4 separate regions of the Homo sapiens genome follow, and regions 1, 2 and 3 are each linked to region 4. The links are contacts of gene promoters, found by promoter capture Hi-C in human tissues and cell types (Jung and others, 2019). All regions are on one chromosome and are shown on one strand. The core of a region is centred on a gene start or on the middle of the fragment in contact, and the rest is flanking DNA. Distances in the headings are between cores, read along the strand shown. Region 1 overlaps GARRE1 (granule associated Rac and RHOG effector 1). Region 2 overlaps GARRE1 (granule associated Rac and RHOG effector 1). Region 3 has its middle 84 kb from the start of LSM14A. Region 4 holds the start of CEBPG (CCAAT enhancer binding protein gamma).

Region 1 (6,878 bases), core at 3,822-6,321, 950 kb before region 4:
TCTTCTACTTTCTAGCTGTGTGACCTTGGGTATCAGTTCCCATGTGGCAGGTGGGCCAAAGGGCAGCACCCCTACCTCATGGGTGAGCATTAAGTGAGACAATGATGTGGAGCACCTGGCACAATGACTGGAACACATGATGTTCCACAAATAATCGTTATCACTGCAGCATTATAACAACATCTCTCTTCTTATTTAATTCATACAAGTCCACTGAGAGACATTAATCATAAACAATATCTTATAGTGTACTTTCAAACCCTTTCTGTTAAACATCTGAATAAAATTATGAATAAAACTGCCTAGGCCCAGGTCGGTGGCTCATGCCTGTAATCCCAGGACTTTTGGAGGCCAAGTAGGGTGGATCAGCTGAGGTCAGGAGTTCGACACCATCCTGGCCAACACAGTAAAACCCCGTCTCTACTAAAAATACAAAAATTAGCCAGGCTTGGTGGCACATGCTTGTAGTCCCAGCTACTTGGGAGGGTGAGGCAGGAGGATTGCTTGAACCCAGGAGGTGAAGGTTGCAGTGAGCTGAGATAGATCACACCACTGTACTCTAGCCTGGACGAGAGAGTAAAACTCCGTCTCAAAAAAACAAAACAAAACAAAACGAAAACTTGCTTGGCAAATGTCTGATTAAAGTCTCCGTAGGTCTGCTTTTTAATTTTTTTTTTTTTTTTTTAAGACAGAGTTTTGCTTGTCGCCCAGGTTGGAGTGCAATGGCGCAATCTCAGCTCACTGCCATCTCCACCTCATGGGTTCAAGCAATTCTCCAGCCTCAGCTTCCCGAACAGCTGGGACTACAGGTGCGTGCCACCGTACCCGGCTGATTTTTTATTTTTAGCAGAAACAGGGTTTCACCATGTTGATCAGGCTGGTCTCAAACTCCTGACCTCAGGTGATCCGCCCGCCTCCCAAAGTGCTAGGATTACAGGCGTGAGCCACCACGCCCGGCCCCATTTTTTTTTTAATCTACATCCTTCGCAAGCCTTTACATTTCTCTTAAGAACTCTATTTTCAAGTTCACACTCATTTGCTGGAACCCCATGGAAAGCTACCGTCTTAAGTTTCAGATTGTCGGCGGCCGACTCATTAAAGGAGACGCCCTTCAGGAAGTGCGATCCTATCTGCACAGGGACGGTGGGGAGCTCACACTGCATGGGCTGCGGGGGTGTCTGCCTCCGCCCCGTCTGCTGGGCTTCCGCCTCGCTGCAGCAGCCCTGGAAAAGGCATGGATGGAAGAGGAGAGGTGACCCATCGCTCATCTGTCAAAACACTTGGTTCACACTAGACTGCAGGAGCAGCGCCATAGGTCCCCAGAGCTTTAGGAAGGAAAAGTGTACCTGCAAACTTGCTTCAATCGCCTTTGGATTCAGGTGGAAGCCGGCTTTCATTGCATATTCACAGTGTCCTAAGCTTTCCAGAGCTATCTTATATGCCTGGAAATAAATTATTTTTAACAATCAAGATCGTAAAGCAAATTATAAGATGACAAAGTTCAATGGAAATAGAAATCTTAAATTTCTATAGCTATTAAAAGGTCAATTACTACTCTATAACCCTTTCTAATTGATTCAACATCACAACTTTAACTCCCTCCCTTGTTTCTATCCCGTGGAAATCAGTATGTCAGTTCTGAAAAACTTACTTGCAAAGCACTGTCGATTTTTATGTTCAGTTCTTTTAGCTGGTGCTCAGGAATTGCTGCACTTTGAGAACAAAAGAGTTGTTGAACTTCAATTCCTGCCAGGCAACCATCACAGCCTCTTTCTCTTAGTCTAGATGTCGCCTGTAACATATATAGTAACTGGTAGGTAAAAGAGGGTGGTACAGTTCTAGCAACATTAGACCAACAATAACAACAACAAGAAAAACCCCCTCAAGTAAAATGCAGCAATAAACCATCTAAGCAAATAAACTAGAAGTTCTAGATTGTTTGTATTGCAAAGTGAGCAGCCCAAATTTTGAAAGCCTAATTAACCATCCTGAAGAGAAAGGAAATTTCCCTTTATTTTTTATTTTATTATTTTATTTTATTTTATTTTATTTTATTTTGAGACAAGGTCTTACTCTGTCACCCTGGCTGGAGTGTAGTGGCGCTATCTCAGCTCATTGCAACCTCCGCCTCCCGAGTTCAAGCGATTCTCCTGCCTCAGCCTCCCGAGTAGCTGGGATTACAGGCACCCACCACTGCGCCTGGTTGAGTTTTGTATTTTTAGTAGAGACAAGGTTTCATGATGTTGGTCAGGCTGGCCTCGAACTCCTGACCTCAGGTGATCCACCCACCTCGGCCTCCCGAAGTGCTGGGATTACTGGCTTGAGCCACCGAGCCCGGCCGAAATCTCCCTTTATTTTAGGAACCCTGGAAAAAAGACTTACCTACTTGTTATTTGTTATATATATATGTATATACACACATATATATGTGTGTATATACTCAGACATTTTTAACTTTCCTGCTTTAAAAAGACAGGTTACCTAGAATATTGGTACTTGGAGTTTCCAGAATAAAAAAAAAAAGGAAGAACATACATGGTTGGCATTCCTATTCAGTGAAGGAAAAGACCACATGAATACATAACAGGAAAAATATACATTGGCATATTAACAGAAAAACAGAGCTTTTGAAATCTGCACAGAAAAGTAAATATTTATTATTCAGTCACTACATATGTTTATGAAGAGTAGATAAGCAAGATAGAAAAGGAGAAACTAATCTCTGTCATTTTACGATTAAATGCAGAAAACAGATACATGGATCAGGACAAGAAGAGAATACAGAAAAATATATATTTGATTTATTAGATGGGATTCCAGATGAACTGTTTTTAGATTTCTATTTTTGTTGCAATTCTGTGAACCAAGTAACATTTTTTAGCAGTTAGCTTTTGTTCTGCTGGGCCAGTGTAGGAGTTGTAATATTTACAAAACTTGCAGACTACAGGAAAATGACTAGCAGCTATAATGCCGTAAAGTTCCAAAGCTTTGGTTTCACAAACTGTATGTAAACACCATTGCCTGAAGCCTAAGAGTCTCACAGTTTAAAACTGTTTGACTCTTTCTAAGAATCTTTCAGTCAAATATTTAGCTCACAAGGTGGTATGTTAGGTACGTGCTGAAGCACAAAGCTGCTCCTTACCTTCCTGGAGCTGAGAGCCTCAGGGCCAAAAAGGTGAACAAAGAAAACACAGAATTATAAATGGAGAAAAAACACTGCGGGAAACAAACAGAGGACTATACCAGGGAATGTCCTAGACACCCAGAAAGCAGCACTTAGGGTGAGAATTAGAGGAGAAGGTCGTGAATGGAATTGCATGTGTGTGGGGTGGGGTGGGGGGTGTCAAGACCTACAGACGGGTCCGTGAAACAGGCCGAGGATCCAAGGTAACAAAGAAAGACACATCCAAGGAACTAGAGCCCAGTGAGCGAGGGCAGGGTGGCCACTGATAAGGCTGGCCATCAAGGCAGGAGCCAGACTAGGCAGGTCTAGGCAGGTCGTGCTGAGGGGTCCACATGCTACCCTAAGGAAATGAGAAGCGACATCATCCAATTTTAAAATGAAGGCGAGCAAGACAGGGAGGGGAGAAGTAACGATTCCCTGAACAAGGGTAGCGATGAAGGACGTGGAAGAAGGGGACAGATCTGGGATAAGATTTTGGAGGTGGGAACTGCCGGGTTTTCTTAAGGATTGGACTGGGTGTAGACATGACGGAAATGCTGAAGGATAAATCTCAGGTTTCTCAAGTGAAGCCAGTGTGGGATGGCACCACTCACTAGCATAGAGAGGGTCTAGGGAGGAACAGGTGAGTGGAGAGAGGCTACGCCTGAGCCACCTGTGAGACCCCCGGTAGCAGCTGAGCTCAGGGGCCTGAAGCCCACAGGAAGTGGGCTGCTCACTGATCACACACATTTGAGCCCCCTCCAAGGACACAGGTGGTTTTTCAGTCCCAAGACTGGATGGAGAACCCCTAGGGAGAAGGGCAGCTAGAACTGAGCCTGGAGAAACTCACATTCAGAAATTGTGTTGAGGAAGGAGAAGCCAGTAAACTAGATGAAGAAAGGATGACCCAAGAGGAAAGAAAGGTTGGTTCTTGGATGTCACAAGCTGAGAGTATTTCCAAGGAGGAATATTCTCCACACTGCTGTGAGCTGCTGAAAGTTGTTGAAAGGGTTCCCTGGATTTGAAAACATGGAAGAAGGCACCAATGACCTTGATAAGAGAAGGCATGTTCTTGTATAGGAGTGGAAGCCAGATTTCAGCAAGCTGAATGACATTATGTATATAAAGTTTCAGACTGTGTAAAATAATACCTTATGTATAGATACATTCATATACGGAAAAAATATTAAAATATGCACAAGGATCACACGCTTCAAATTCAACAGAGGTTATCTCTAGAGACAAAGGGATGAATAAGAAAGTGGAGAGGTACAAAAGGGATTCAAGTGCATTTACAGACCGGGTGCAGGAGCCTAGGAGCTTGGGACCGGCCTGGGAACATAGCAAGACCCTGTCTTTAAAAAAATAAATAAAAAGTAAAATAAAATAAATAATTAGCCAAGCATGGTGGTGCATGCCTATAGTCTGAGCTACTCAGGAGGATTGCTTGAGCCGAGGAGGTCAAGATTGCAGTAAGCTGTGATCACTACCGCACTCCAGCCTGGGCAACAGAGCAAGACCCAGTCTCAAAAAAAAAAAAAAAAAAGTGCACTGGTGATATTTTTCTGTTAAAAATATGTAACAGGCATGAGCAAATATGGCAGGCAGCTAAAAGGAAGATACACTGATGGGTGTGAAATGTTCTATGTGCCTGAAATACTTCAATAATAATTACTTTTTAGACTACTCTGAGTAAACTGTCCACGGGGTGTGCCAGGAGCAGTAAGGAGCCACAAGGTGCAGTAAAAATAAAATAGTAATTTTTTAGAATGAATGAAAGGTGAAAAAAAGGTAGACAACTACTCCAAGAAGTTGGCTGAGAAAAGAGCAGAGAAACAGGGCAGGGCAGAGTGGACTTTTCTGTGGGAAGCATCTTTGTGTACTGGTGGGAACAGGCTGAGGATGAGGGAGAGAAAACACTAGGTCGCACCACAGAAGCTGGGCCCTCGAGGATGGGGGCAAGGCCAGCACGGGGCAAGCCTGGACAGGAGGAGAGGGCACCTCCTCTGCTGTCATGAGGCAGGGGAAGGAAGAAAAGATGGTTGTGAAGAGGGATGGCAGGAGTGGTGGTGGCTTGGCCACATGAGGAAGAAGGGCTGCCATCAGGGAGATTCTATTTGCTCAGTGTAGTAGGGGGTGGCATCACTGGCTGAAAGCAAAGGGAATGTAGAAAGGGCAGAAAGGCCTGGACAGACTAAAATGGTGGCAAAAAAGGTCAAGGTGAAGACGTCAAGAGAGAACTCGGAGGCCTCCTCCTGTGGGCTGGTCCTCAGCATGAGTTGTCTAGAAGATGGAGCAGGGGACCAAGGCAGGTGTTAGGTTCACGTGTGTGAGCTGAACAGTCAGGAGGCTGGGGCCCAGCAGCCAGGAGGACACCGAGGGTTGTAAAGTCACATGACAAGGCAACAAGGTGCAGGTCTGGACCTCAGGGCTTAGCCATCTACAATAAAGCTAACAGGTCCCACCCCCACACACAGCCTCCAATTAGCATTCCAGGGCCTTTCTGATGAACAGAAAGAAAGCCCTAGGAAGTCTTTAGCATGAAAGACAGACCAAAACATGCAAGAAAACAGTGAAAATTAAAAAGAAATGACAACAATGCAGCAAATGGCATGAAATTGAAATAATAAAACTAGAGACTGGACAATATTAACATGTGAAAAATCATGTTTTGAAAATTTTATTAAAGAAAATTTCCAAAACATAAAATGAAATACTAGGCCGGGCGCCGTGGCTCACGCCTGTAATCCCAGCACTTTGGGAGGCTGAGGCGGGCAGACCACGGGGTCAGGAGATCGAGACCATCCTGGCTAACACAGTGAAACCCTGTCTCTACTAAAAATACAAAAAATTAGCCAGGTGAGATGGCAGGCACCTGTAGTCCCAGCTACGCGGGAGGCTGAGGCAGGAGAATGGCGTGAACCCCGGGGGGCGGAGCCTGCAGTGAGCCAACATCGCACCACTGCACTCCAGCCTGGGCAACAGCGAGACTCCACCTCAAAAAAAAAAAAAAAAAAAAAAAAAAAGAAAAGAAATACTTTGCCAAGTTAATTATGGAATGATTTGAACTAGACATTATTTAATGAATCACTATATTGCTAACCATAAATTATCTTTTAATCTGTGTTTGCCTGCTGGGATAGTTTAAAAAAATTATCTTTTGGCCCAGGTGGGTGACTCACACCTGTAATCCCAGCACTTTGGGAGGCCGAGTCAGGTAGATCACCTGAGGTCAGGAGTTTGAGACCATCCTGGCCAACATGGCGAAACCCCATCTCTACTAAAAATACAAAAATTAGCTGGGCGTGGTGGCGGGTGCCTATAATCCCAGCTACTGAGGAGGCTGAGGCAGGAGAATTGCTTGAACCCGGGAGGCAGAGGGTACAGTGAGCCGAGATTGCGCCACTGCACTCCAGCCTGGGCGAAGGAGCAAGACTCCGTCTCAAAAAAAAGAAAATTATCTTTTACTCTGTAAAATGGAGCAGTAAGTCCTAAAGTCTCAACTTCTAAGATTTATTTTTTATTTCTCATACTGGAAAGAAATAAGTATTAAAATGCCTACAAGAAATGTCACTAATGGCCAGGCATGGTGGCTCACACCTGTAATCCCAGCATTTTGGAAGGACAAGGCAGGTGGATCACCTGAGGTCAGGAGTTCAAGACCAGTCAGGCCAACATGGTGAAACCTTATCTCTACTAAAAATACAAAAATTAG
Region 2 (7,161 bases), core at 454-2,953, 930 kb before region 4:
GGTTGTTATATTGCTTAACTCTTTTAATCTAGAACAGTACATTCTGTGTAATTTCTTTTAATGCTACTGACTTGTTGAACAAATCAGGTCAACTTATTACAGGATATGCCACATTGTGAATTTGTCTGGTTGCCTTCTCGTGGTATTGCATAACTTGCGTCACTACACCCCACATTTCCTGTAGACTGGATTCATTTTAGAAGCTTGATTAGATTATTTCAGGGTTTGTTTTTTTTTTTAAAGAGGGAGAAGTAGAATATTATTAATATTAGATGTGTTGTGCGGTTCTTGCTGCAGCACATCAGGAGACGTGATGACCTGTCTCCATTTCCATGACACTAAGGCTGATCAATGAGATTTGGGTGCGGAAGGCCTGATTCTCCCAAATGCGGTTCCTCAGCAACCTTCCAACAAATGGTTTCATCCTCCACTGTTGGCCACTGGTTGAGTCACCGAATTGATCACAGTCTGCAAAGTGGAGATTTTTCTCTCATCCATTAGGGCTATTTGGTTACCATGAAAAACAGTTTCTACTGGAAAAGCAGGAAATTTGCTTATTTCCTTACTTTTCTCCTTTTAATTAGCATTTATCAGAATAATGAGTTGGTTGCACATGCTTGTCTTGACAAATCAAAGTCAAAGGGTCCAGTCCCTCCACAGTGACAGATGCCCAATGGCCTTGGTGGCTTCCACCCACGTAGAATGGGCTAGACAGATGGTAAATCATGTTTGTTGACCACAATGCAAATTTACAGAATCACCCAAATTCCAGCTGCTTAATTAAGTACAGCTTCCTCTACAGGCTAAAGTCTGAAGACAATTTAGGTAATAGCAGATTCACCTCAGCAAAAAAGTAAGCCAAAAACACTGACCTGAAATTAGCAAGTTTCAAAACTGGATTCATACAAGCTTTTTATGAGGTGAACTTCAGTTTCTGATTAGCAGCAGCAATATGAACTTTCATCTGGCACATACCATTAGGAAATATTTACTCCATAATCTGTTACAGAAGATCTACCAGTCAAAACAAGTAACACTTACTTTTACCTTTAGGGCAAAAAAAAAAAAAAAAAAAAAAGGAACAGGATGCACATTCAATTCCATTAAGGTTAATGCAAATCGTATTTTTGAAACCAGCTTCTAATATTTTCCATTATTGTTACTCTACAATATTTCTGGTATATATCTATCCAAAATAAATGTTAATATACCTGAATTAAGGTCCTTAATTAAGAGTCAGTCAGCACTCACAGATAAATTATTTCAAACATATTCACAGGTAATCACATAGTATACAAAAGAAATTTGTTGTTGTGTCAAACTGAAAGCCAAGATGCAACTGTGTAAAGATTTGAGAGCCAGGCCCAGTGATACATACTTGTAGTCTCAGCTACGCAGTCTCAGATACGCGGGAAGCTGAGGCTGGAGGACTGCTTGAGCCCAAGAGTTCGAGGCTAGCCTGGGCAATATGGCAAGGCCTAATCTCTAAAAAAAAAAAAAAATATATATATATATTTTTTTTTTATAGTATATATATTTTATAGTATATATATACTATATATGTATATATAGTATATATAAGTATATATGTATATATAGTATATATATAAGTATATATGTATATATAAGTATATATGTATATATAAGTATATATGTATATATAAGTATGTATATATAAGTATATATGTATATATAAGTATATATATGTATGTGTGTGCGTATGTGTATATATATACATACATATATAAAAAATACATATTTTATATATATGTCTGGCATATATATATATAATACGTATATATACATATAAGTCTGGCTGCTTATTCACAAGATGGTAAATACTTGAAAAGTCAATAAAAATGCTGGAATTTATAAAATACAGTCTCCTTAGAGACATACAACTCCTGGGAGCCCCATGGCTGCCCTGGGTTCCTGGACTGCCTACATAGAGGACCAACACCTCTCAACACTGAGGACCCAACGTAAAACCAGAGCCCTGGAGCTACCCAGTATGAAGAAGGCAAGGGGAGAAGTGGCATCGCTGCTCACTACAAAAGAATGGCAGGGCCCAGCCTGCTGCCCTCCCATCCCCTGCCCTTCAGAGGTGTACCTCACCTTGCCTCCTACCTGGCTACTCAGAACAGACACCAGAGTGGCCCCTCTTTACCCTTCTGACCTCACCCCTGCTTCTCTCCCTTCCATTCACTCTGTTTTAGCCACAGCAGGTTCTTTCCTGCTCTTCCAACACTCCAGGCTGGCTCCTGCCTCTGGGACTCTGTGCTCGGCGCTCCCTCCGCCTGGAATCCTCTTTTCTGGGCCAACAGGCTTGCTCTCTCATCCCTTTCAGGCCTTTACTCGAATGTCACCTTCTCAGTGGTACCTTTTCTAACTACCTTCTCTAAGATCGAAACTCCCTTCTAGCTACATGAAGGGAGAGATTTCTGTCATGTTCACTACTGCAATCGACATGCTGGAGTAGTATCAGGCAGAAACAAGGCATACAATAAATATCTGTGGAATGAATGCACAAATCACAAGTCACTTTGATTCTTTTATTTATGTACACTTCCACTGAAAAAGTAATTTTATTTAAGTGATAGATGTCACCTTCCAAACCCAGGTCTTCTGACTCTGTGCCCAGTAACTGACTTCCTAGGCTGATGTACCAGTGTCACAGGCACTAGTCAGCTAGTGAAACCCCATAGTCACAACTCACTTCTCTAACAGAGAGACTGTGAGGGTGAACCACTCGGGCTAAGGGGCAAAGTCACTGGTGAGTATAGACTGGACAGGACTCACATATGCCCTGCTGGTTCCAAGGCAGGGTGGCAGAGCACACAGTCAGCAACCACCATTCCTGGACAAAGGCATCAGTATCTGTCAATCAATAACCACAGCCCAAACTTGGCTGTAAGTCAGAAGCACCTGGGAACACTGCACACATGCACTGGCCACATGGCAAGGGGACAGGATCATCCTTTGTCCTAACTCTTAAATGGTCAAATATTTGAATACTCTCGAATCCAGAGCTTTTCTCACCCACAGTCCTGGACTGAGCTCCTGAGTAGAGGCCTTGCCTGGCAATGTTAGGCCACAGACCTCTTTCCCCAGGGATGAATGTCAAAGTGACTCTCAGGGCCTTGCTTATAAAAATCCTTAAAAAACCAAAAGGAAAAAATCCAAATGCCTAGCCATTTCATCTGAGTTGCTGAAAATTCTGAGAGAGACCCTTATTGGCCTATGGCTAAATCCCCTGGCAGTACATAAATTCCAGAAACAACAAATATTGCTCTGGGGAAAAAGTGAAACGTGAAGTCTGCGGGCCTATGCTTGGCAATCACATTTAGAAATTCACTTGTAAGTCAGCTGTTTGAAACTCAGAATAGACGCATAAATTGGAAAACCCACCAAATACTTAGTTTCCAGACTCGTCTGGGAAAGCCTGTTCAGCCCATTATGTACAAAAAAACATGGTAGTATTCCAACTATCTAATCAGCATTTCAATGTGGAAAGCCAAGTCAAAATTCCAAACTACAACAATAAGTATTTCCCGTTCTCAGCTTCAGTGGTCAATGCCAGTCCCAGGAAAGCAGAAGAAACAAAGCAGGTACTGCTGTGCCCCAGCGGCTTACCAAGCCCCTACTGCTCACAGCTGGTTATCTTCTCTAATTGTCCTGCCCTGGGCAACAGGCGCACTTGCCCTCCAGGGTTGGAAAGCAAAGGGCCCTGCAGGTCAAGCTCTGTTTCCTCCAATACCTGCAAGCATGTCCTGAAGAAGAGCTCAGTAATGCTCAGGTTAAAATAAAAGCCTTTGGCCTTATATTTCAAACCACTCTTGCCTGAAGTCCTGAATAAAGCTAAGAGCGCTATGTCATCATGGGGTGACAGCTGTCAGAGTCTAAGATTGTTCAACACTTTCTAGGAGAGGACAAAGTGTTCCTAACTATTGTCTTGCCATATCTCTATCAAGCAGTGACCAGGCACAATGGTGGATGAACAACGTGGTTCTTTATGTAAAAGTCAAAGCTGCACACATCTGTACATATCCATGCATGTACAGACGGTAGTCTGGAATGGCATACAACAACCAGTTACTAATGGTCACTTCTGGGGAAAGGAATGAGGTGCTAAAGGAAAGTAGAAGTTTCACTGCTTACGTTTCTTTTGAGAAGTAAAGGCATGCTTTTTTATGTGTTGAATTTTTAAACAAAATTATGACAAGCCCGCCGGGCACGGTGGCTCACGCCTGTAATCCCAGCACTTTGGGAGGCCGAGACGGGCGGATCCCGAGGTCAGGAGATCAAGACCATCCTGGTTAACATGGTGAAACCCCGTTTCTACTAAAAATACAAAAAAATTAGCCGGGCGTGGTGGCGGGCGCCTGCAGTCCAAGCTACTCGGGAGGCTGAGGCAGGAGAACAGCGTGAACCTGGGAGGCAGAGCTTGCAGTGAGCCGAGATCACGCCACTGCACTCCAGCCTGGGCGACAGAGCAAGACTCTGTCTCAAAAAAATAAATAAATAAATAAAAAATAAAAATAAAAATAAAATTATGACAAGCCATTTTATACACACTTTAAAATGACAGTATCCCTGGGTATAAAATATGATCATAGAAACAATTAGAAATTACAAAGATGGCTGGGCGTGGTGGCTAACCTCTGTAATTCCAACACTTTGGAAGGCCGAGGTAGGTGGATCACTTGAGGTCAGGAGTTTGAGACCAGCCTAGTCAACATGGTGAAACCCGTCTCTACTAAAAATACAAAAAAAATTAGCCAGGTGTGGTGGCACGTGCCTGCAGTCCCAGCTACTTGGGAGGCTGAGGCACAAGAATCGCTTTAACCCAGGAGACAGAGGCTGCTGTGAGCCAAGACCACGCCACTGCACTCTAGCCCGGGCAACAGAGCAAGACTCCGTCTCAAAAAAAAAAAAAAAAAAATTACAAAGATGGCCGAGCACGGTGGCCCACGCCTGTGATCCCAGCATTTTGAGGCCATGAGTTTGAGACCAGCCTGGCCAACATGGCGAAACCCTGTCTCTACTAAAAATACAAAAATTTGCTGGGTGTGTTGGCACATGCCTGTAATCCCAGCTACTTGGGAGGCTGAGACATAAGAATTGCTTCAACCCAGGAGGCAGAGGTTGCAGTGAGCTGAGATCGCCAATGCACTCCAGCCTGGGCAACAGAGCAAGACTCTGTCTAAAAAAAAAAAAAAATTACAAAGATAGATCCAAAGTAGAATGACCCTGACCCAAGGAAGTGACTATACACTTATACCAGCAGGTGCAGCAAACTAGAACCCATCGGCCAAACCCCATCCATAGAATAGATGGGCCCACAAAGTAAAGCTGACTTTTACATTTTTAAAGGATTGTAAAAAATAAAAATAAAAACAAGGCCGGGAGCGGTGGCTTACACCTGTAAATCCCAGCACTTTGGGAGTCTGAGGTGGGTGGCTCACTTGAGGTCAGGAGTTTGAGACCAGCCTGACCCACACGGTGAAACCCTATCTCTACTAAAAATACAAAAATTAGCCAGACATGGTGGTGGGCGCCTGTAATCCTACCTACTCGGGAGGCTGAGGCAAGAGAATTGCTTGAACCCGGGCAGCGGAGGCTGCAGTGAGCCGAGATCACGCCATTGCACTCCAGCCTGGGCTACAAGATGAAACTTCGTCTCAAAACAAAAACAAAAACAAAGAATATGTGAGAGAGACCACATGTGGTCCATGAAGCCTAAAATTTCTGTCTGCCCTTCATAGAAAAAGCTTGATAAACCCTGATTTATACCAATGATGCTGTGTCTCTTAAGAAATAACTCTAAGTTCTTCTTGGAAATTCCTTCAAAATCACTTTTAAACACAGTAAAAATTAGTTGTGTTACTTAAAAGTCAAGTTCTTTTTTTGGTTAACCCAAAGCAGTGTTAGTTAGCTTATTCAGGCACCTAAATAATCAGATCCGACCCAAAAGACTGGTGATCTTAACCCCAGGATGGGGTAAGGAACATTCTCCTTCCTAGGATCTCATATCCAAGAACTTCACCTGGATGTAGAAGGATGGAAAAACTAATGTCAGATTAACTCTCTGAACAGCTAAAAGTAATTTTTAAAATCTATCAAACGAATATAAGAGATCAAAGTTGAATAAATCATTTCCTAAAATAAGACAAGAAAAAAGGTCATCTTTACTTTGAATGAAACTTGTATTCTAATCTTACATTGTAATCTAGAGCCCTAAAAGAATAATATTTCATTTTAACTATCAAAGAGGCTGGGTGTGGTGGCTCACACCTGTAATCCTAGCACTTTGGAAGGATGAGGTGGGTGGATTGCCTAAGCTCAGGAGTTTGACACCAGCCTGGGCAACACGGTGAAAACCCATCTCTACTAAAATACAAAAAATTAGCTGGGTATGGCTGCGTGAGCCTGTAGTCCCAGCTACTCAGGAGGCTGAGGCAGGAGAACTGCTAGAACCCAGGAGGCAGAGGTTGCAGTGAGCCGAGATAGTGCCACTGCACTTCAGCTTGGGCGACAGAGAGAGACTCTGTCTTTTAAAAAAAAAAAAAAAAAAAAAAAACTATCAAAGACCCCAAGAAATGTACTGAAGAAGACTCAAATACATCTGAATATTAGCAACTGTGAATTTAGAATTGGAAAAATTATTCTATAAACGTGTGGGACTCTCTAAAAACCAAAGATTCAATATAATAAAAATCCACAGGACAGGCAGGGTGGCTCACACCTGTAATCCCAACACTTTGGGACGCTGAGGCAGGTGGATCACTTGAGGTTAGGAGTTCGAGACCGGCCTGGCCAAGATGGTGAAACCCTGTCTCTACTAAAAATACAAAAAGTTAGCCGGGTGTGGTGGTGGGCGCCTGTAATCCCAGCTACTCGGGAGGCTGAGGCAGAGAATTGCTTGAACCTGGGAGGCGATGTTGCAGTAAGCTGAGATCGTGCCACTACACTCCAGCTTGTGTGACAGAGTGAGACTCCGTCTCAAAAAAAAAAAAAAAAAAAACGGCTGGGCGCGGTGGCTCCTGCCTGTAATCCCAGCACTTTGGGAGGCTGAGGCGGGCGGATCACCTGAAGTTGCGAGTTTGAGACCCTAGTCTGACCAACATGGTGAAACCCCGTCTCTACTAAAAATACAAAATT
Region 3 (6,798 bases), core at 1,937-4,436, 710 kb before region 4:
CTGGGATTACAGGCATGTGCCACCATGCCCAGCTAATTTTTGTATTTTTAGTAGAGACGGGGTTTCACCATGTTGGCCAGGCTGGTCTCGAACTCCTGACCTCAACTGATCCACCCACCTCGGCCTCCCAAAGTGCTGGGATTACAGGCGTGAGCCACTGCACCCGGCGTTTTTTAGTTTTTAAATTCTGTTCCATTGATCTGTCTGTTTTGTCTTGTGCCATTGCCACATTGCATTACAATTTCTACCTTTATGATTTTTTAATATCTGCCAGGTAAGATCGATATTGTCTCGTTTTGCAAGGAGCCATTCACCATACTTGTTGAGTGCTTGCTCTGCACCAGGCTTTGTCCTGGGCACTGAAAGTGCGATGTTGACCTACATGGTCTTTCTCTCTCATAGGTCTTGGAGACACAGGCAGACACACAGGGTGGTAATTACAACCTGCCTGATCAGCAGTGCAGCAGGGAGGGCCGGAGCATGGTGGGACACATCTATCCATGTTCCTGCCTTTGTGCCCAGGCACGCTGCTCCTGTTACTGTAGATGGACTTTCTGGCTCTTGTCTGAGGCCCGCCCCTGACCAGGCGCCAGATCCTTTCCCCTCTTGCCTTCTCAAGGACCCACTGAAGCAATTCCCTCTTTTCTTTCCTGCACCATCAACGGATATTTCCTTCTCTACTGGAATATTCCCATTAGCTTATGTGGATCATGAGTGAATTCCTTTCATTGCACCATGTTCTCCAATTACCATCCATTTCTCTGCTTTGTTTATGGCCCAAATCCTTGAGTTATCCATCTTCACTGTCTCCAGTTCTCCTCCCATTCCAGTGGGGCGTCACCTCCACCACTCCTCCAATACCTCTCATATCAAGGTCACCAGTGACCTCCCTGCACCTGTTCAGTTCACTTGCTCATGGTACTTGACACCCCAACAGCATCGGACACAGCTCGTCACTCCCTTCTGGAGAACATTTCTCCACTTGGCTTTACACATGCCACTCTCTTGGGTTTCCTTCGACTTTACTGGTCACTGCTCAGAGTCCTTTGCTGTTTTCTCTTTATTCTCCCCAACTATATTTTACTTACTTATTTTTTTGAGATGGAGTCTCGCTCTGTTGCCCAGGCTGGAGGGCAGTGGCATGATATGGGCTCACTGTGACCTCCGCCTCCCGGGTTCAAGTGATCCTCCTGCCTCAACCTCCCAAGTAGCTGGGATTACAGGCACGTGTCACCATGCTCAGCTAACTTTTTTGTATTTTTTAGCAGAGGCTGGGTTTCACCATGTTGGCCAGGCTGGTCTCGAACTCCTGACCTCAAGTGCTCTGCCCACCCTGACCTCCCAAAGTGTTGGGATTACAGGTGTGAGCCACTGTGACCGGCCATATTTCTCCCAATTCTAAATGCTGGAGTGCCCCAGGGCTTAGATCTTAGGTCTTTTCTCTGTCTGCACTTACTCCTAGCCTCAAGACTTTAACTATCATTTCTAATGATGGAAATATCTTCTCAAATCATGGAAACTTCAACTTTATATCCCCTGTTCAGACTTCTCCCCTGAGCTCCAGACTTGTCTATCACTTGTCTCCTTACATCCCACTTGGATGTCCCACGGTTATCTTATCTCAAACTCAGTATGTCCCACACTGTACTCCTGAGGCAACCACATTGCTCTTTCCATACCTCTTTATATCTCTGTACATGGCAACTGCATTCTTTAAGCTGCTCAGGTCAAAAACTTCAAAGCAGCCGGGTGTGGCAGCTCACATCTGCAACTCCAGCACTTTGGGAGGCCAAGGTCAGAGGATCGCTTGAGCCCAGGAGTTCGATATCAGCCTGGGCAGCACAGTGAAGCTCTGTCTCCACAAAAAATACAAAAAATAAAAATTAGCCAGGCGTGGTGGCACATGCCTGTAGTCTCAGCTACCTGGGAGGTTAAGGTGGGAGGACTGCTTGAGCCAGGGAGGTCGAGGCTGCAGTGAACCGTGATTATGCCATTGCACTACAGCCTAGAAGAAAGAGCAAGACTGTCTCAAAAAACAAACAAGCAAACAAAAAATTCAAAGCTATTCGCGACTCTTCTCTTTACCACACAGCTCACATAGACTTCATTAACAGACTCTGGACTCTCCCACTCAAATCCAGAACCTGACCAAGGTTCACAACTTCTGTCTTGCCATCCTTTTCAAGCTGCCATGATTCCTCACTTGGATTTTCATAGTGGCCTCCTGATGGCTCTCTCTGCCTCTGTCCTCACTCCCCTTAGTTGTCTAAGAGTAATGCTTTTAGAACGTAAATCACATTATGTCACATTTCTGCTCAAAACCCAATGGTGCCTCTTTTGCCAATGGTGCCTCTTTGTTGTAAGGACCCAGTCCAAGTCCTTACAACAGCCTACAAGACTGCGCTTGATTCTGCATCCCCCAATCTACTTCTCTAACTTTCTCTGCCACCATTTCTACCCTAGCCTTATTGGACTCCAGACACATTGGCCTACTTGCTCTTCTCTGAAGGCCAAGCACTTGACCCTTTCAGGACATATCCTCATGGCTCATCTTGTCACCTCCTTTTGGATTTTGTGCAAATGACAGTGAAACTTTTTTTGATCATCTATTGATAATTTTAACATCATCCCATCCACTTTCCATCTTTAATTAATTACTTAATTAGTTTATTTATTTATTTGTAGAGACAGGATTTCGCCATATTGCCCAGGCTGGTCTCCAGCTCCTGAGCTCAAGCAATCTACCTGCCTTGGCCTCTCAAAGTGCTGGGATTACAGGAGTGAGCAGCCTGCCTGGCCTTTATTTATTTTTTATCTAACTCATTACCAGCTTCTAACTCAATACCAGCTAACATACTCTATTTTTTATTTTTTTAAAACCTATTTGTTTATTTCCCACTAGCCTGCAAATTTCTAAGGGCAGAGATTTCATCTGTTAAATTCCAGGTTGTTTATACAGCTCCTAGAGCCATGCCTGATGTATAACACATGCCCAGTAAATATTTGTTGAATGAGTGATGTCCTTGAATATTGAAATTGATATGTCTGAAGTTTCTACAATTTCTTAAATGAGTTTATTTCTAAGGAAATAATCCCCTTTATCTTAAGTCATTGAATTTTTTACTCTGACAATTTTTGGGTTTGCCTTTCTAGAGGAGTTATGTGGGTGTCTGTTTCAAAGATTTTAGGTCAAGGTGAGAGAAAAAGAGACTAGTTTGAATTTGTTGGAGGTTTATTTTTTCAGACAGTTACGGTTGCCCTTGTAAAGCGGAAAGAGAGCTCACCCAGAAGTGGCCAAGGACAGGAAACTTCCCTGTGATGCGGAAGGGTTCCCCTTACCCTTTTGTTATTATTATGGAAGTGGTAGTGGCAGGAGTGGCCACAGTGAGGTAGATAATAATTGCAAGCATTTACAGAATGCTTCACTGAGTGCCAAGCCCTGTGAGTGGGCTTGACTGCACTTTCTTATTTATTTATTTATTTATTTATTTATTTATTTATTTATTTTTTGTGACAGAGTCTTGCTCTGTCACCCAGGCTGGAGTGCAGTGGCGCGATCTCAGCTCACTGCAAGCTCCACCTCTCGGGTTCATGCCATTCTCCTGCCTCAGCCTCCCGAGTAGCTGGGACTACAGGCACCCGCCACCACGCCCGGCTAATTTTTTGTATTTTTAGTAGAGACGGGGTTTCACCGTGTTAACCAGGATGGTCTTGATCTCCTGACCTCATGATCTGCCTGCCTTGGCCTCCCAAAGTGCTGGGATTACAGGTGTGAGCCACCACGCCCGGCCAGCACTTTCTCATTTAAACCTTATAAACCAGGTACTATTATCATTATCATTCTAACTTCATAAATGGTAGACCTAAAGCTTTTTTTCTTTTTCTGGGCAGGGTCTCACTATGTTGCCAGGCTGGTCCAAACTCCTGGGCTTAAGCAATCTGCCTGCCTTGACCTCCCAAAGTGCTGGGATTACAGACATGAGCCACTGCACCCAGCCTGACCTGAAGCTTAAATAAAGGTAATGCACAGCCAGCCCCCCACAATGATCCCCACCTCCTGGTATTCACATACTCATGTAGTCCCCTCCCATCTTGTACCAGGGTTAACCTGTGGGACCAATTACATACAGCAGAAGTGAGGCTGTCCTTCTTATGAGATTAGGCATAAAAGACTGGCTTCCTTCTTGAGCACTGTCTTGTCTTGCGTGCTCTCTCTCTCTCTCCCTCAGATCACTTGTCCTATGGAATGTCAGCTGCCATATTGAGAGCATACTCAAGCAGCCCATGGAGTGACCCATGGGATAAGAAACAGAGACCTCTGCCTAACAGCCAGTGAGGCATTGAGACCTGCTGTATTAGTCTGTTCTCATGCTGCTAATAAAGACATACGCAAGACTGGGTAATTTATGAAGGAAAGAAGTTTAATTGACTCACAGTTTCACATGGCTGGGGAGGCCTCACAATCATGGCAGAGGGCAAAGGGGAAGCAAGGCATGTCTTACATGGCGGCAGGCAAGAGAGAGCTTGTGCAGGGGAACTCCTGTTTATAAAACCATCAGATCTCATGTGACTTATTCACCACCATGAGAACAGCAAGGGAAAGACCCACCTCTATGATTCAATTACCTCCCACTGTGTCCCTCCCACAACACGTGGGGATTATGGGAGCTACAATTCAAGATGAGATTTGGGTGGGGACACAGCCAAACCCTATCACCTGCTAACTACCCATGCATGAACTTGGAAGTGGATTCTTTAACCCCATTTGAGCCTTCAGATGGTTGGTGGTAGCCCTGGCTGGCACCTTGACTACAACCTTCTGAGAGACTCTGAGCCCAAGCCACCCAGCTAAGCTGCCCCAGGATTCCTGATCCTTAGACATTGCAGGAGATGTTAAATGACAATTATTTAAGCTACTAGGTTTTGGCATAGTGTGTTATGCATCAGCAGATAACCAATATAGGTAACTTGCTCAAGATCATGCTGTTGATAAGTGGTAGAACTAACATTTGAACATGGGCTTGTCTGACTTCGGACCACTGGGCTCCATTGCCATGGTGACATCCACAGTATAGACTCTGCTCACCCCTGGCCTGTTGGGAACTGCCACTGAGTTGTGGGGCTTGCCATGACCTGCAGGACTGAGACTGGGGCTGAGAACCGACCCCGTGACTTCTAGGACATGTTTCATTCATTCTCAATGTGGGAAAATTTAACCTATTTTATATTCCCTGAGTTATCTCCATAAACATTTGTGGTGAGTTATCACCATAAACATTTGTGGAAAGCACATTTAAGATGTGGGTTGTGACTTCCAACTGGAACCAGATATCTAGACTTCGTTTATGGACCATGGGTCAGCAAACAGTAAACAATTTTGGCTTCGCGGGTGAAATATGTTTTTAAAAAAATGCTGCCTTGACACAGTTTTGAGACCTTGGCTAGAGGCTGGTCACATCCCCTTCTTAGGCAGCTGGTTAAGTCATACTTCTTGGCTGGGCACCGTGGCTCACGCCTGTAATCCTGGCACTTTGGGAGACTGAGGCAGGCAGATTGCTTGAGCCTAGGAGGTCAACACCAGCCCGGGCAACATAGCGAAACCCTGTCTCTACAAAAAATACAAGGAAATTAGCTGGGTGTGATGGTGCATGCCTGTAGTCCCAACTACTTGGGAGGCTGAGGTGGGAGGACCACCTGACTCTGGAAGGTTGAGGTTACAGGGAGCCAAGATTGTGTCACTGCGTTCCAGCCTCGGTGATAGAGGGAGATCCTGTCACACATAAACAAACAAACAAAGTCTACACCCCAAACTGCCTCACCTCTCATGCTTTAGGCCACTATGCACCTGCCCTAATTGCCCAGAGCCAGATATCTGATATCTGATAGGGATAGCTCCTAAGCCCCAGAGCTTGCTGAAATCATGAAAATTGGCCAATCCTAAACCTGCTTGTCCTGCCTAACCCTTTCCTTCCCTGCTGCCGTCTCTGGTGCTTGCTTCCTTGGGGTGGCCCTGCAGGGCGTTGCTGTGTTCTCACCCCAGGGAACTGTCAGCAACAAAATGGTAAGAGTCAATCCTTTCAAAAGTTTCTCCTGAGGTCTGCATAAAGCCTCCTGTCCCTCACCATCCCTCACCACTCACTGTGGGGAGAACAGTGGGCCATATGGCTTCGGTCACAGCTACTCAACTCTGTCATTGTAGGACCCAAACAGCCATAAACAATATAGGAATGTGTTCTGAAGGAAACCAGAATATTTCACCCCAAAAATAGACTTCTTTGGCATATTTTGAGATAATTATTCAGAGAAACTGCAGACAAGAATAGCCCTGAAAAGCTGTCTTTGGTGGAGGAGATTTGCATCTGTAGAGAAAATCTACATTAGTGAAATAAGCAGCCAGGCTTTCTCTGAGCACCCTCTTCTCCAGATCTAGGAAAGATGAGCTCACAGGAAAAAGAGACTAAGAGCCTAACACGTTTAAAGGTTTGTCAGAGAAACTTTGCCACAGTCCACTTCTATTCTTTCTGAGAGCTGCTACCTGTGATGCTTCATTTGCATGACAAGACCACTTTGACAAATTTTCCTTCTTTCCTTTTCCCATAACCTGTGTGCTACCTCTTCTGGAAGCCCCAAGCCCCTTATTCTTTCTGTAGCCTCAGGATAGCATAAAAATTCCACTCAACTGTGGCTCACTCCTGTAATCCCAGCACTTTGGGAGGTCAAGGCAGGTGGATCACTTGAGCTCAGGAGTTCAAGACCAGCCTTGGCAACATGGCAAAACTCCATCTCTGCAACAACAAC
Region 4 (7,304 bases), core at 1,154-3,653:
CTGTTTAGTCTCTGGGATTTGACAATTCCACCTAAAACAAACAAAAAAAAAACTTCCCATCTACTCTTCCTCTCCATCCCAATCCCATCGAAATCACCTTAGGCCACTATCATCTCTCAGGGACACTGGTCTCTGGTCTAGCCTGCTTCCTCCAACCTCTGTCTCCAGAGCAATTGAACACTCAAACCTGAGTGAGTCATTCTCCTGGTGAAAATTCATCTCTGGCTCCAGTCTACAGGATCAAATCCAAGGTCCTGACCCTCTCTCCTCCCTCACACCACATCTTGACAGTACTAAACCACTATCTGTATCCTAAATGGTCTGTGCTTTCTCTTTTCTTTGGGCATCTGGGAAAATTTGTTCCCTAGGTCTGTCAACTCCAGCCGCATCGTGTCTCCCTGCAGATCTTCACAAGCATCTAGCGCAGGGTCCATGAGGAAGGGGACGTCCCCTTTCTGGGAGTACAGAAGTGGGTCACTGGAGCATTAGAAGAACATCAACATCATCTTTCTAACCCAATCCTTTTGAAGTGATTTACAACACACAAAACAAATAGACTATTTGTAAATGAACATCCATTAGGAGGTCATGCTCATTTTTGTCTTTTTTTTACTGATAGAGCTAGAAAGCCACAAACGCAGGAGGCCAGTGTACCTATCAATATAACAACCCATGGAACCAACCCTCCCAAGAACGCACAATACAGCTGGAATCGTGGCTACCTGTATTTACCATTACTGTGACCAAGTGAGGCAATCTTAGACCACGAGACCAAATTCAGCCCCACGAGGTCCTATTTGTCTTTACCAGGGGCTCAGCACATAGTGTTTAATTTCCCAGGGATGAAACCATCTCTCCAAGATCAGACAGCCTTGCAGACAGACATGATGTGATCTTGAGAATTTAAAGGATATTCTCAATGAAGTTTTGTTTCCATCTACTTTTTTTAAAAGCAGGTATTAAAAATAACTGAACCAGCCAAGTGTGCCCACCAAAAGCAGGAATCAAGAAGCTGAAATATGCTTCAGCTCCCTTGTACCCTGTAATTATTTAGCCTTGTTTACAGCAACTTTTTCCAGAAGCAGAATCGACCTTATGAACAGCTTATCCCAAATACTACTCAAGGGCTAACAGATGACCACATCTTAAATATCAAGAGCTTCTAGGTGTAGAATGTCTTCGTAAAGCAAGCCCTTATAGGATTTTCTTTTAAAATTTTCTCTGGGAGTCACATTTCTTTGGGAGAAGTCTGCCTTAAGTGACAACCTATTCATATAAGCAGTCAATTCTGACACAACTACCAATTTTGGTGTCACCCATCAACATTGAGACCTTTCTAAATCTTATACATTTCAGGATGCCAGATTACAGTATAAACTTCAAACAAGAGGAAAACCCAACACGTAAACCTGCGGAAGAGAAGCAACACACCAGCTGCCCTGGAAAACACTCTCCTCCCCCCGCGACACATGCATTTCCATCCTTCGCATCTGGTCACCTCCGCTGGCTGTCGGCCCTGCTCCGCTCCCTCCAACTATGCCTGCGAAGTGCTTCATTTCTTCTCTATTCGACCCGTAGGTGTTGCGTGTTCTTCTAAACTACGTTCAACAGTAAAGTGCAGGACATTCCAACAGCTCCACAAAGAAGCAAAATATTATCTCTGCAAAGTCATGCATTTAAAAACCAGTTGCTTTCCCTATTTTATTGATCAGTCTTTGAACTTCTGAACAGATTTTCGATCACCGCAAGCTGAGCCCTTCTAGAAGATCAGGATTCTAAAGCTCGACTCGGTCCACCTTCTGCTATTCTGGGAACACCCTTCATCCCCAGGGGCCAATGCGAGCCTGGCGGGTCACAGCGCCCGTTTCACCGAGAGGGGGCCGGGCTCCGCAGGGGGCATTCCCCGGCCGTTCGCGCGCTCCCGGCCCGCCGCGAGGGGCGCCCCGGGCAGCGCGGGGGTCGACGGGCGGCGCCGCAGCGCTGGGCCGCGGCCAGGAATGAGCTCAGCGTCCCCGCCGGGTGTTGCCGGCAGGTTGCATCAGACGCCGCGCGGCGCCGCCGCCCGCGCCTCCAGCCTCGCGTGGCCTTCCCGGGCCAGCGGGCCGTCTGGGGCCGGGGCTGGGTTTCCCCGAGCCGGGCCCGCACCCAGTCGAGCGGCCGGCGTCGCCGCGGCCTCCTCCTCCCCGTTCTCAGGGCGCCCGCCGCAGCCTCCTTACCTGCTCCTCTAGCCCGCCTGCCCCCAGGCGGCCTCCACTCCGAGCGGCCCCGCGCGGTGCGGCCCGAGCCGACCCAGGCCTCACAGCCCGCGAGTCAGCGAGGAGGAGCGACGGTTACGAAACCGGCAGCCTCCGCCCGTTCCGCAGCCGCGGCCACCGGCTTCCCCTGCTCGCCGGGGCCGCGCGCGCCGCCGCCGCCATCCCGGCCAATGGGAGCGCCGGCCTGCCGGAGGCACCGCCTTCTCTCGCGACGGGCAGCCCAGTCGACCAATCGTGGGCAGGCTGGCGGCGGGAGGCGGGCCCACGGTGGGGGAGTGGGTTCCGCGCGGCTGGCTCGGCGGGTGTGGCGGGAGCAGGGAGCTGCTTGCTGCGGCGTCCGCGGTCCCTAGGCAGCTCGCCCGGGCTGGCGGCGGCCTAGTGCTGTGGACGACTCAAGTTCGAGTCGGAGGCTGAAAAGCCGTCACCTTGTGGAGGCCAGACGTGCCTTTGGAAGCATTTTCTGAGGTGGTTTTGTGAACCACCGGCGACTGTTTTGGTTTCGCCGCGTCCCTTGGAAGCCCCCGCGGCGTCCCTCACAGAGTTTCTGCGAACGGAACGCCCCGCAGGCGGGCGGGCTTTGTCGCCGCAAAAAGAGTGGAGGCTGACGCGGTGGCTCCCGCCTATAATCTCAGCGCCGAGGGAGGCCGAGGCGGGAGAATGGCTTGAGCCCAGGCGTTGGAGAACCAGCCTGGACAACATAGCGAGACCCCATCTCAGTTACTAATTTTTAAAAAATCGAATGAACCCAGATGTTTCACACATAGGATTAGCATTGATGTCACATGGGTGAAATCCATGTGCTGCAGGCTGTGCTTTGTTGTTAGGGTGAGATGAAGTGAATTTCTTAAAATGATTCTCTTTGGGTGCCTTCCAGGTGCATGGGTGCGAGGTGATCTCTGAAAATAAGCAGCGATCCAGTGTGACTTAAAACTCGCCAGGAGAACCCGAAAGCGTTTTTTTTTTTTTTTTTTTTGAGACGGAGTCTCGCTCTGTCGCCCAGGCTGGAGTGCAGTGGCGCAATCTCGGCTCACTGCAAGCTCCGCCTCCCGGGTTCACGCCATTCTCCTGCCTCAGCCTCCCAAGTAGCTGGGACTACAGGCGCCCGCCACTACGCCCGGCTAATTTTTTGTATTTTTTTAGTAGAGACGGGGTTTCACCGTTTTAGCCGGGATGGTCTCGATCTTCTGACCTCGTGATCCGCCCGCCTCGGCCTCCCAAAGTGCTGGGATTACAGGCGTGAGCCACCGCGCCTGGCCCCGAAAGCGTTTTAACACCAGGAAGCAGCAGCTCGCTGGGCGGAGGGCAGAACTCGCCTGATAGGTTTAATTGCTTCCTCTTTAGCAACGCGTATCGTTCAAACAATTGAGGCTTTGAAAGAGGAAATGTTTCTTCAGCGCCCATGGAACCGGCTCGCCCCGTAAGATTGTTTCGAGGAATCAGTAAGATGATAAAGCAATAAATAAAAATTAAAAGGGGTCACAACGGTGAACAATGGGCTGGGCGCGGTGGCTCAGGTCTGTAATCCCAGCACTCTGCGAGGCCGAGGCAGGCTGATCACTTCAGGTCGGGAATTAGAGACCAGCCTGGGCAACATGGAAAAACCCCATCTCTACCAAAAATACAGAAGATTAGCCGGGTGTGGTGGCGCTGTGCCTGTGGTCCCAGCTACTCTGGAGTCTGAGATGGGAGGATGGCTTGAGCCTGAGAGGCGGAGGTTGCAGTGAGCTGAGATTGAGCCACTGCACTCCAGCCTGAGCCACAGAATGAGATCCCTGTCTCCAAAAAAAAAAAAACAGGTAATAATGCTCACAGATGCACACTTAGGAGAATAAGTGTCATTGAAACAAGTGTGTTTCTTCACGTTGGCTCTCAGTATTCTCAGCTTAAATTTCTTTTCTTCTTTTTTTTTGAGACGATCTTGCTGTGTTGCCCCAGCTGGAGTGCAATGGCACTGCCACAGCTTGATCACAGCTCACTGCAGCCTCGACTTCCTGGGCTCAAGCCATCCTCCCACCTCAGCCTCCCAAGTAGGTGGGATTACAGGCATGCACCACCACACCTAGCTAATTTTTTAAAAATGTTTTGTAGAGACAAGGTCTCACCATATTGTCCACTCTGGTCTCAAACTCCTGGGCTCAAGTGATCTTTCTGTCTCGGCCTCCCAGATTGCTGGGATTAAGGGTGTGAGTAACCAAGTCCTGCCTGAACTTGCTTTGATCAAGATTTTAGTACTATTAAAATAGGATTGTGATTTATTGCTCACAAAATCATAATTTTACCCTGAATATTTCCTAATCACTTAAAAAATGTGTAAGGGGGCCAGACACAGTGGCTCACGCCTGTAATCCCAGCACTTTGGGAGGCCGAGGCAGGCGGATCACCTGAGGTCAGGAGTTTGAGACCACCCTGGCCAACATGGTGGAACCCTGTCTCTACTAAAAATATAAAAATTAGCCAGGCGTGGTGGCGGGTGCCTGTAATCCCAGCCACTCGGGAGCCTGAGGCAGAAGAATTGCTTGAACTCGGGAGGCAAATGTTGGCAGTGAGCTGAGATCACGCCACTGCACTCCAGCCTGGGTGACAGCAAGACTCCATCTCAAAAATAAAAAAATAAAAATAAAAAAGGAAAGAAAAGAAAAAAGAAAAATGTGTAAGGGGAAAAAAAAGAACTTGCATAGGTATATTCAGTTATCCTTTGGTTTGCAAACCGCCCTGCCAAGCTGTTCCAGCATTCTTTGTATCTGTGTCTGGGCAGGCCTTCTTACACACCCAGCAAGTCTAGTCAGTGCCCAGGACACTCGGGTATTTATTTTCTTTTCAGCTGGTAGCTGGTAGTTTTTCTTCTACTCAGTTTACAAGTATGCATTTGGTGCCAACTATGTACTAAGCCGTAGGCTAAGTGTTGGAGATTCAGCAATGAGCAAGACAAACACACAGTCACTGCCCACATGGAACTTACACTTACAGCCAGGCAGACAGGCGTTTGGTAATTACACAATTTTTCTTTCTGTCACCTATGCTGGAGTGCAGTGGGGCAAGCATGGCTCACTGCAGCCTGGACCTCCTGGGCTCAGGTGATCCTCCCACCTCAGCCTCCCAAGCAACTGGGACTACAAGGCATGCGCCACCATGCTTGGCTAATTTTTGTATTTTTTGTAGCAATAGGGTTTCACCATGTTGCCCAGGCTGGTTTCGAACAGCTGAGGTCAAGTGATGCACCCACCTCGGCCTTTTAAAGTGCTAGGATTACAGGCATGAGCTACCTCCCCTGGTCCACAATTTTTCAATTACCATTTTCATAGATACTACAAGAAAGCAGTACAAGACGCTGTGAGAAATCAGAAGCGAACCAGACCTAGTCTGATGGGTCCGGGGAAGCCTGAAAAATTGACAGGATTTGGCTAGGCAATACAGAGGACGTGGGTGCAGCAGTCACAGGGAATTCTTGTCCGGGGCCCTGTGATGGGAGAAATTTAAGGCTAAAGTGGCTGAAAGTAAAGTGGAGACCAACAAGATAGGCAGGGCCATGTGGGCCCAAGAAACATTCAGATTTTTACCCTAAGAGATAGAAGCTTCCGAAAGATTTGTTCTCCATAAGGAAACGAGAGCCTGGTGAAGCCTTGGAGGTCTACTATGTAGCTTTTTTTACAAGTCACAGGGATCCAAGCCATCACAGTAAAAGAAAAATTTCCTGCATATCTCTCTGCCTTACAGTAATCAATATATATTCTACAAATCCAAAGACTGAGTAGCCTCTATAGCACTTTGGGAGGCCGAGGTGAGAGGATCACTTGAAGCCAGGAGTTCAAGACCAGCTTGGGCAACATAGTGAGACCCCTCATCTCTATTTAATTTAAAAAAATTTAAAATAAAAAAACCCTCCAAAGGACTTGGGAAGTAGGCTGTTGTATTCATTGAATATTGTAGTTACCTGACAGCCACTATGATTAACTACATTAGTTACCTAAGAGATATGAACACTAGTGTCCACAGCTTCACCGCTTGCTAGATGTGCAGCCTTGGCCAAATTACTTAACCTCTCTGTCATCTGTAAATGGAGAAGACAACAGTGTCGCTCTGAGGATTAAAGGAATTAGTGTGCTAGACCCCTAAAACAGTGCCTGCTTGGTACCTCAAAAGTATTAGCTACATGGCTGGCTAGAGTGGCTCACTCCTGTAATCCCACCACTTTGGGAGGCTAAAGCTGGAGTGCAATGGCATGAGCATAGCTCACTGCAGCCTTGAACTCCTGGGCTCATGCAGTCCTCCCACCTCAGCCTCCCAAGTAGTTAGGACTACAGACGTGCATCACCACACCTGGTTTATTTTTAAAATTTTTTGAGAGATGAAATATTTTTAGAGATGGAGTCTCACTATGTTGTCCCGGCCAGTCTCAAACTCCTGGGCTTATGATTCTCCCACCTCGGTCTCCCAAAGTACTGGGTGTGATGGGTGGCATGTGCCTATGGTCCCAGCTACTCAGGAGGCTGAGGTGGGAGGATCACATGAGCCCGGGAGGCAGAGATTGCAGTGAGCCTAGATCGGCCTGGGAAACCAAGCGAGACTCAGTCTCAAAAAATAAAAAAAGTATTAGCTATTATTACCACGATGCTCATACATGAATTATAAACAAATTGCATCCATAGAATCATAGTAGACTAAAACACACTGCAAAATGAGGCCAAGCTGTGCTTATACTGCTTTGCTGATTCAGGCACTAAACACACAAAATATTGAAGGTCATGATGTTGACCCTATGTTGTATCCTAAAAGGTGTTATTTTTAGAGCAGTTCCTTAGTTACCACACCTTATTTCATTTGTTTCCACAAGGTAGAGTGGAGGAACAATTTAGTAATTTGATTTTTTTGTATTTGAAAGCCAGATCAATAGAAGTTTACTATGCAAACTGAAATAAATTAATGTATATTTGGAAAGTTTCTGAAAAACTAAACAGCCAAGTTAACCACCTTTGACAGGAGATCCAGACTGTATCTGTAATATTTGAGAGCTGGGAAAATGTCCGTCAGATTTGAGTTTCAGTTGATGTC

What was found. The method cuts DNA at HindIII sites, captures the fragments that hold promoters and counts their contacts. A contact is called where the count stands out against the background at its distance.
Region 1: a fragment that was not itself captured here is called in contact with the fragment with the promoter of CEBPG in region 4 in 1 of the 25 tissues and cell types used here (lymphoblastoid cells).
Region 2: a contact is called between a fragment that was not itself captured here and the fragment with the promoter of CEBPG in region 4, in 1 of the 25 tissues and cell types used here (hippocampus).
Region 3: a fragment that was not itself captured here is called in contact with the fragment with the promoter of CEBPG in region 4 in 2 of the 25 tissues and cell types used here (H1 embryonic stem cells and mesenchymal stem cells).

Annotation. Positions count from the first base shown.
Region 1 is chr19:34,322,335-34,329,212 of GRCh38, reverse strand. It overlaps GARRE1 (granule associated Rac and RHOG effector 1), which reads right to left. Exons shown (of 14, transcript NM_014686.5): 4 at 1,652-1,792; 5 at 1,347-1,442; 6 at 1,062-1,223. Among named protein-coding and RNA genes, the nearest start is that of GPI, 39 kb to the left of the region's middle. The HindIII fragment of the contact is 5,735 bases long and covers 2,204-6,878 here.
Region 2 is chr19:34,302,156-34,309,316 of GRCh38, reverse strand. The region is part of intron 2 of GARRE1 (granule associated Rac and RHOG effector 1); the gene reads right to left. Among named protein-coding and RNA genes, the nearest start is that of GARRE1, 51 kb to the right of the region's middle. The HindIII fragment of the contact is 3,275 bases long and covers 66-3,340 here.
Region 3 is chr19:34,084,690-34,091,487 of GRCh38, reverse strand. No RefSeq gene overlaps it. Among named protein-coding and RNA genes, the nearest start is that of LSM14A, 84 kb to the left of the region's middle. The HindIII fragment of the contact is 4,884 bases long and covers 745-5,628 here.
Region 4 is chr19:33,368,808-33,376,111 of GRCh38, reverse strand. It overlaps CEBPG (CCAAT enhancer binding protein gamma), which reads right to left and starts at 2,403. Exons shown (of 2, transcript NM_001806.4): 1 at 2,217-2,403. RefSeq lists a silencer at 1,807-2,616. The HindIII fragment of the contact is 10,998 bases long and covers 1-6,957 here.